2 separate regions of the Homo sapiens genome follow, and region 1 is linked to region 2. The links are contacts of gene promoters, found by promoter capture Hi-C in human tissues and cell types (Jung and others, 2019). All regions are on one chromosome and are shown on one strand. The core of a region is centred on a gene start or on the middle of the fragment in contact, and the rest is flanking DNA. Distances in the headings are between cores, read along the strand shown.

Region 1 (4,150 bases), core at 308-2,807, 190 kb after region 2:
AGTGTTGTTATGAAGGCTTAAGCTCTGCATTAAGTTTCTACAAGTTCCACAGCATCAGGTCATATGGTTTTCCTCAGGGTCAATGTTAATGTGTGCTGAACTGGCTGGAGGACTGCCAGGCCCTGTGAGAAGCCTACGTTCATTCATCCATGTCCTTGGAGTCCTAACATCAGCCTTAGCAAGTAGGTCCTGTTTTTGTCTCCACTTTTCAGATAAGGAAAGTGATGCCTAAAGAGACAAAATTCTCTGTCCATGGTCATAGCCTGGATTTGAACCAGGGTCTTGGGACTCTTGGAGTTTGTAGGCTTACCCCAATATATGCCTGCCTCTAAAGTCATGGCCACTAATTTCCTGTGGGCTGAGTTGTGTGTTTCAGAGGAGGGTCTAAGAAACACTGACTTCTTTCAGTGTGCTGTGGGGTCTGTGTGTAACTGGGACCCTAGATTTACCCCTGAGGCTGGCATACAGCCCTGCCCTGTCCCCGCTAACAAAAGTGGACTTGCTGGGGCAGACCAAAGGCCTGGGTCAGACCAGGAGGCCACCTTACAAACCCCAAGGCTGGCAAAAATGGGCGGCCTGTGCCTCTGGCCTGGTGTACCTAAAATGGAGAGAGATGAGGGTTCCAGGAGAACCAGAGAGGGAGGAATGAAATTCCTCCAAGGAGCCCAGGGTGGCATGTCCGACTGTGTGACACGTAGACAGGGCCTCCGCAGGGAGCCACGCGCTACCCCCAGGTCCAGCCGGCTGTCTTCTTATAATACCCACCAGCCTTTTTCCCTGCCCACCAGCCGCTGAAAACTCCCACCCCCTCCAAAAAAAAGTTCTATTCCCTCTTCTCTGACCACAAAGGCACTGAAAACAGTGGAACCAGAAGGGGAGTCAGGGTGGGTGGAAAGGTACGGGGTCCAGGCTGATAGACCATCCCAGGGTTCTTAAGCAGCAGGGACCACCCCCTTCCCCCCAACACTGTAGATCAGAACACCCCTCTCCATCAGGTCATTACATACAGCCCTGGTAACTACACAAGGCAGTTCACCTTGATTATCGAGTCCTTTCCGGGATGTGGAGAGCTTGTGAGAAAGAAATGGGATCCTTTGAGAAGTGAGGGTTTGGAAGTGGGGGCAGGAGGGTATCTTTGGGGAGATGGGTGTCTGGGAGGCCCCAGGGGTGCTGTCTAGGGTTAGAGTATTGGGATGCAGAGCTTAAAAGAGGCAACAAGGAAACAGGACCCCGGGTTCAGGGGACGGAGTGGTGAATCCGGGGGCGCCCAACCGGGGTTACCTTGAATCAAACTTCTTGCCATCTTCAAAAGTGCCGTTGTAGTGGTAGCGCACAAAATCCCCCATCTGCACTTCCCGGGGACAGGCCCTGGGGATGTGGTACCTCTCGATGACCACATCTTCCAGGGGGCCCCCGGCCGGGCTGGCGCGGCCCAGCCCCCTCCCCACGGCCTGCACCACCAGTAGCAGCAACTGCAGCAGGGGGAGCCGGAGGAGGCTGTGGCTGGGGGGGCCCGCGGGGAACATGGTGCCTGGAGTTGGGACCGCCGGCAGTGAGGGCGAGCGAGGGAGTCGCCACCAACCTCCTTCCCCCCGCCTCCCAGAACTGGCTCCCCCTCTTCCTGTCCTCTTTCCCTACCCCCGCCCTGGCTGGTCCACGTGGAATGGGGGCTGGGAAGACTGAGCTGGCCTGGCCGGGAGGAGCGGGGGAGGGGGTTGCAATAGGAGGAGGGGGCCAGGCTGAGTGTGTTAGAGTCTGAGGGAGGCACTACAAAGAACTCTAGGTTCCCCCTCCCCCCATCTCCATCCCTGGCTGCGAGACCTGGGGCCTGGCCAGGGAGAGAGGCTCGGGAAAGATGAGAACTCTGAGTGGACACCAAAGGAAAAAAAAAAAAAAAAGTTCAATGACTTTTTCCGGAGCCCCCGGGTCCTAAAGCCGGGCGGAGATGAACCTTGCTTCTTTCGCGGGCACTTCGAATTCTAGTCCCCTCCAGGTGGGTGGTGAAGCCGCGGAGTGTGAGAGGCATCTCCGTGCTCATCCGTGACCCCAGCTGTACTCCAAGGGAAGGCATCTCCAGGGAAGAGCAGCTTGGTCCCGCAAAAGCTGGACTGAAAGAAGGACTTTGTGACTTGGGATGTGACGGGCACGGAGATGGAGTGGGGGGTGGTGGCAGCGCAAGGTGTGCAGGTGACAGCAGGTGTGTGCCTCCGACGTGGGCGGGGGAGACACTCGGAGGGTGCAGGAGGGCGCAGCGACGGAAGGCCCGGCTCCAGGGCTTCCTTCTCGTATGGGCAGCGCAGAGGAGGCGGCCCTCACTCAGTGTCCTGATCTCAGGCGGGGGCACTGTTTGCATGGGGAGGGGCTTCCTGGGCTTCCCATCTCTGGCGGGAAGCGCTCCCCGACGCATTCTCTACCTAGGGGACACCCCCAAGGCAGGAGCCCGGGCCGACGGAGAGGACTTAACGACACTATCGGACCCTCTGGGAAAAGAGGGGAGACGTCGTGACCCAGGCCCCGCCCCACCTTGCCGCCTCGTGCCCGGCGCTAAGACCCAGCGGGCGCGCCGCCCGCCCGGGGCCCGGCCCTGTCCCCTTCCGTCCGCGGGGCAGCCAGCTCAGCTCCGGAGAGCCGGCGGCGCGGCGGGCATGGCTCGGGTGGCGTGGGGGCTGCTGTGGTTGCTGCTGGGCAGCGCCGGGGCGCAGTACGAGAAGTACAGCTTCCGGGGCTTCCCGCCCGAGGACCTGATGCCGCTGGCCGCGGCGTACGGGCACGCTCTGGAGCAGTACGAGGGAGAGAGCTGGCGCGAGAGCGCGCGCTACCTGGAGGCGGCGCTGCGGCTGCACCGGCTCCTGCGCGACAGCGAGGCCTTCTGCCACGCCAACTGCAGCGGCCCCGCGCCCGCGGCCAAGCCCGATCCCGACGGCGGCCGCGCAGACGAGTGGGCCTGCGAGCTGCGGCTCTTCGGCCGCGTCCTGGAGCGAGCCGCCTGCCTGCGGCGCTGCAAGCGGACGCTGCCCGCCTTCCAGGTGCCCTACCCGCCGCGGCAGCTGCTGCGTGACTTCCAGAGCCGCCTGCCCTACCAGTACCTGCACTACGCGCTGTTCAAGGTGGGAGCCCGCCCCCACCCGGGGACCTGTCTCGGGCTGGGCGTCGTGGCTCCCCACAGATCGGTCGAAGGAGCGTTATCTTCACCCAAGGCACGAAGCCCGCCGTGCGCTCGGGGCCGCGAGCTCCGGTCTTGCTGACCCGCTCCCCCACCCCCTACCCCCCGACCAGGCTAACCGGCTGGAGAAGGCGGTGGCGGCGGCCTACACCTTCCTCCAGAGGAACCCGAAGCACGAGCTGACCGCCAAGTATCTCAACTACTATCAGGGGATGCTGGACGTCGCCGACGAGTCCCTCACGGACCTAGAGGCCCAGCCCTACGAGGTGGGGTGGAGGGTCAGGAGGAGGCTTGTAGAGGAGGGCTAGTAGAGGAGGGGAGATGTTGGGGGCGCCCTGACTCCCCCTGCCACGCCCCTTCCAGGCCGTGTTCCTCCGGGCTGTGAAGCTCTACAACAGCGGGGATTTCCGCAGCAGCACGGAGGACATGGAGCGGGCCTTGTCAGAGTACCTGGCAGTCTTTGCCCGGTGCCTGGCCGGCTGTGAAGGGGCCCATGAGCAGGTGGACTTCAAGGACTTCTACCCGGCCATAGCAGGTATCTGCCACCCAGACCACGGTGGGCGGTCCTCTCACCCACAGGGCCCGGTAAGGCAGATGTCCCCTTCATGCACGTGGAGCACTGCGAATGCGGAGGAGCCAGCCGGGAGGAAGGCCTTGTCTGTTGAGAAAGACGCTGGGTGCAGGGGCCCCAGCTGGGAGTGTCCAAGGGGCTGGATCAGTGAGTAGAGGCAGTGACATCCCTAAAGGGTTTGGGAAGCTTGGGTTCATAGGCCTTCCAGGCAGAGGGCAGTGCAGATGCAAAGGTGCAGCGGTGAGAAGTAACCCAGCAGATGTGTGCAGAAAGCAGTTGATAACCAGAAATTACACCTAGTCTTGGGATCTCTAACCCTGGGGTCCCTCGAGCAGGGGCAGAAAGGACTGTACTTGGCCAGGTGTGGTGGCTCACACCTGTAATCTCAGCACTCTGGGAGGCCGAGGCAGGCAGAT
Region 2 (4,277 bases), core at 876-3,375:
TTTCAGCATTGTGATAGTTGGTATAGACAGTTACTCAAGCAGATTTATATCCATCACATTTCACAGCTGTCAGCATTTATAGGTCATTCCCATTTGCCTTCTCCTTCTAGCAGCCTTTTCATATTAGTAGGGCTTGCCAGGACAGTGATGGAGAAGAATGGAGAGGGAGGATCACCTCAATAAAAGGAGGGCGACTTTACCAGTTTGTAGTTTAAAATACTTAAGTAAATCACAAATCTCCCTAATGCAGATATCCGTAGACTCAAGCTGTAAATTGCTGTACCATCACCAAGGTTTAAGAACTAGGACTTTTGCCTCAACTTCAGGCAACCCCGAACTAGGTTCTTTTTTGCATGTGAACAACAGGAAAAGAAAGATGTTTCTCATAACAAAAATGATCAGGTACTTAGTTAATGTTGCAGTAATCATTTCAGTAAAGAATTATCTTTATCACTTGAGCAGTGGAATGATTTTGAGTATCTTGATAGAGGTTACTAGTTCTTTTAAAACACTGTTGGTCATGTCTGATTTGATTCTAGGTACTTGCTCGGGAATCTAATTCCCAATTATATAACATTGTTCCTTTAGGACAAAGTTTAGGAAAGTATACTTTGTCTAATGGCACAGTTTCAAAAAATAGATCTTAGAGGTAGGGAAAAAATACTGCTATCACCCAGTTGCTGAATATATAAGGTACTGGAGGGAGTACAAAGAGGGCAGCAAGTACCTACATTGTTGTGATGGGAAGAGGGAACACCAGTGGATGGGTGCTCCTTATAGTATGGCACTGGCATCCTGTACCTCATATGTCCCTGTCATCCACGGTCTTAGTCTCTGCTGTCACTCAGCTCTGTTCCTGTCTTAAACACCAACATGCTATGCTTTTAACTCTTTTGCCACCTGCCTTTGCTCTGCTTGTTCTTCCAGTGACAAATGCATGAGCCACTTTTCAGGAGGTGAAATTATTAAAACTCTTGAGGATGTGACCTATTTCACATTGAGAAATAAGTTGCCCTGAATGGAGTAACCATTTTTCCTGTAAGTTTGCAAAAGAGGCAGCAGTTGTGACACTGTGGAAGGAGATAGAAAAATTCCTTGCCATGAGGGAATGTCTAAATTTGTCCTGCGGGGAGGATGACTACAGGCAGAAATAGTGAGGTGAGGCAGGAACATAAGAGGGGTTTTCTTGATTTAGTTTGAATGTATCTAAGTGACAAAAAGGAGCATCTGAAGAACTTGGATTCTTTCATTAGCACCTCCTTTTGGTCCATTGGCCTATTCAACAAATCTATAAATCCTTCAAGTATCACACTAACTTTCAGCTCAGTGTGCTGCGGGCTCTAGACCAAAGATTCCTCCTGTAAGATTACAGAGGTTATTCCCTTTGTAAAGTAACATGATTCTCTTTCTCTTTCATTTTCAGGGAAGCAGAGACTTTCAAGGAACAAGGAAATGCATACTATGCCAAGAAAGATTACAATGAAGCTTATAATTATTATACAAAAGCCATAGGTGAGAAAGAACTGATACTTACGCTAGAAAACATTTACTTGCCAAATATTATTAAAAGTAGCTGCCAAGTCCTGGTGGCTCACGCCTGTAATCCCAGCACTTTGGGAGGCCAAAGCAGGAGGATCACTTTAGATCAGGGGTTTCAGACCACTCTGGCCAACATGACGAAACCCCGTCTCTACTGAAAATACAAAAATTAGCTGGGCCTGGTGGCGGGCACCTGTAATCCCAGCTACTTGGGAGGCTGAGGCAGGAGAATTGCCTGAACTCGGGAGGTAGAGGTTGCAATGAGCCAAGATTGTGCCACTGCACTCCAACCTGGGCAACAAAGCAAGACTTCATCTCAAAAAGATAAAAAAAATAGGCCAGGCTCAGTGGCTCATGCCTGTAATCCCAGCACTTTGGGAGGCCAAAGCAGGCGGATCACTTTAGATCAGGGGTTTCAGACCACTCTGGCCAACATGACGAAACCCTGTCTCTACTAAAAATACAAAAATTAGCTGGGCCTGGTGGCGGGCACCTGTAATCCCAGCTACTTGGGAGGCTGAGGCAGGAGAATTGCCTGAACTCGGGAGGTAGAAGTTGCAGTGAGCCAAGATTGTGCCACTGCACTCCAACCTGGGCAACAAAGCAAGACTTCATCTCAAAAAGATAAAAAAAATAGGCCAGGCTCAGTGGCTCACGCCTATAATCCCAGCACTTTGGAAGGCCAAGGCAGGCAGATCACCTAAAGTCAGGAGTTTGAGACCGGCCTGGCTAACATGGTGAAACCCTGTCTCTACAAAATACAAAAATTTGCTGGGTGTGGTGGTGCGTGCCTGTAATCCCAGCTACTAGGGAGGCTGAGGCAGGAGAATCGCTTGAACCCAGGAGGTGGAGGTTGCAGTGAGCTGAGATCCTGCCGTTGCACTCCAGCCTGGGGGACGACCAAAGAACTCCATCTCAAAAATTAAATTAAAAAAAATTGAGAAAAGTAGCTTCTCTCTGAGAAGTAGCCTTTTGCCCAATGGGTTGATAACTGTTACTGTATGAACTCCTTCAGGCTTAATGATCTCATGAAGGCCAGGCGTGGTGACTCATGCCTGTAATCCCAGCATTTTGGGAGGCCGAGGCGGGCGGATCACCTGAGGTCAGGAGTTCTTCTCCCCTAATTTGCTTACCCCAACTCAACATGCACATTTCATTTCAGCCTGGCCTGTTAACATGGTGAAACCCTGTCTCTAAAGATACAAAAATTAGCCAGGTGTGGTGGGCGCTTGTAATCCCAGCTACTCGGGAGGCTGAGGCAGGAGAATTGCTTGAACCTGGGAGGCAGAGGTTGTAGTGAGCCAAGATCACGTCGCTGCACTCCAGCCTGGGCAACAAGCGCGAATCTCCGTCTCAAAAAAAAAAACAAACTCATGAATGATAACTTTTTTCTTTTTCTTTTCTTTTTTTTTAACTCTTTAAATTTTTTAAAATAGAGACAGGGTCTTACCATGTTGCCCCGGCTGGTCTCAAACTCCTGGGCTCAAGCGATCCTCCTACCTTGGCCTCCCAAAGTGCTAGAATTACAGGGATGTGCCACCATCCCCAGCTGTGATAACTTCTTCTAACTGGGGTGGGTAGTTTTTCTTTTGATAAATTAAAGGCAATTCCAGAAATACTGAATGTTATGGCAAAACCCACCTAAATACATTTCAGTCATTGTCAATTCATTTACTACCTTAGAAAATGGCCTTTGTACATAAAAGAAGTCTTAGTTATCTCCATGCTTAATTTGCCAGCATACTTTAATCCCGTGTCAGCATTCTTCTCACCTAATTTGCTTACCCCAGCTCAACATGCACATTTCATTTTAATGTCTCATTATACAAAACAGTTCATTAAGATTAATAAGCTGCCTCTCTCCTCAAAAGATAATCACTACACTTCAAAGCCGTACCTTGTTTTGTTTTAAAACTGATTGTATCCTTGCTGCTGTCCATTTGCACAAGCAGTCAGAAATTTGGATGCAGCCTATTTATTTATTGTTGAGACAGTGTCACTGTCACCCAGGCTGGAGTGTAGTGGCACAATCTTGGCTTATTGCAACCTTCACCTCCTAGTTTCAAGCGATTTTCATGCCTTAGCCACCTGAGTAGCTGGGATTGCAGGTGTGTGCCACCATGCTTGGCTAATTTATTTGTATTTTAGCAGAGACAGCGTTTTGCCATGTTGGCCAGGCTGGTCTCAAAACTCCTGGCCCCAAGTGATCTGCCCACCTCGGCCTCCCAAAGTGCTGAGATTATAGGTGTGAGCCACTGTGCTGGCTGTGGCATTCTAAAGAGAGTGTGTCAGGGCTGGGTGCAATAGCTCACTCCTGTAATCCCAACGCTTTTGGAGGCTGAGGCAGATGGATCACTTGAGGCCAGGAGTTCAAGACCAGCCTGGCCAACGCGGCAAAACCCCATCTCAACAAAAAATACAAAAATTAGCTGGATGTGGTGGCGTGTGCCTGTGGTCCCAGCCACTTAGGAGGCTGAGGTAGGAAGATGGTTTGAGCCCAGGAGGCGGAGGATGCAGTGAGCAGAGATCATACCACTGCAGTCCAGCGTGGGCAACAGAGCCAGACTGTGCCTCAAATAAATAAATAAAAATACAGAAATTAGCCAGGCGTGGTGGCACATGCCTGTAATCCTAGCTGCTTGGCTGCTTGGGAGGCTAAGGCACAAGAATCACTTGAACCCAGGAGGCAGAGGTTACAGTGAGCCGAGATAGCACCACAGCACTGTAGCCTGTGCAAC

The links. The method cuts DNA at HindIII sites, captures the fragments that hold promoters and counts their contacts. A contact is called where the count stands out against the background at its distance.
Region 1: the fragment with the promoter of FKBP10 here is called in contact with a fragment that was not itself captured in region 2 in 2 of the 25 tissues and cell types used here (H1 embryonic stem cells and IMR-90 fibroblasts).

The regions. Positions count from the first base shown.
Region 1 is chr17:41,810,411-41,814,560 of GRCh38, reverse strand. FKBP10 (FKBP prolyl isomerase 10) reads right to left here and starts at 1,557. Exons shown (of 10, transcript NM_021939.4): 1 at 1,282-1,557. The coding sequence starts at 1,526. P3H4 (prolyl 3-hydroxylase family member 4 (inactive)) reads left to right here and starts at 2,612. Exons shown (of 8, transcript NM_006455.3): 1 at 2,612-3,107; 2 at 3,277-3,429; 3 at 3,527-3,698. The coding sequence starts at 2,646. RefSeq lists an enhancer at 2,243-2,352 and a silencer at 2,493-2,982. The HindIII fragment of the contact is 16,914 bases long and covers 1-4,150 here.
Region 2 is chr17:41,997,717-42,001,993 of GRCh38, reverse strand. DNAJC7 (DnaJ heat shock protein family (Hsp40) member C7) reads left to right here. Exons shown (of 14, transcript NM_003315.4): 2 at 1,424-1,512. Among named protein-coding and RNA genes, the nearest start is that of DNAJC7, 18 kb to the left of the region's middle. The HindIII fragment of the contact is 6,309 bases long and covers 1-4,277 here.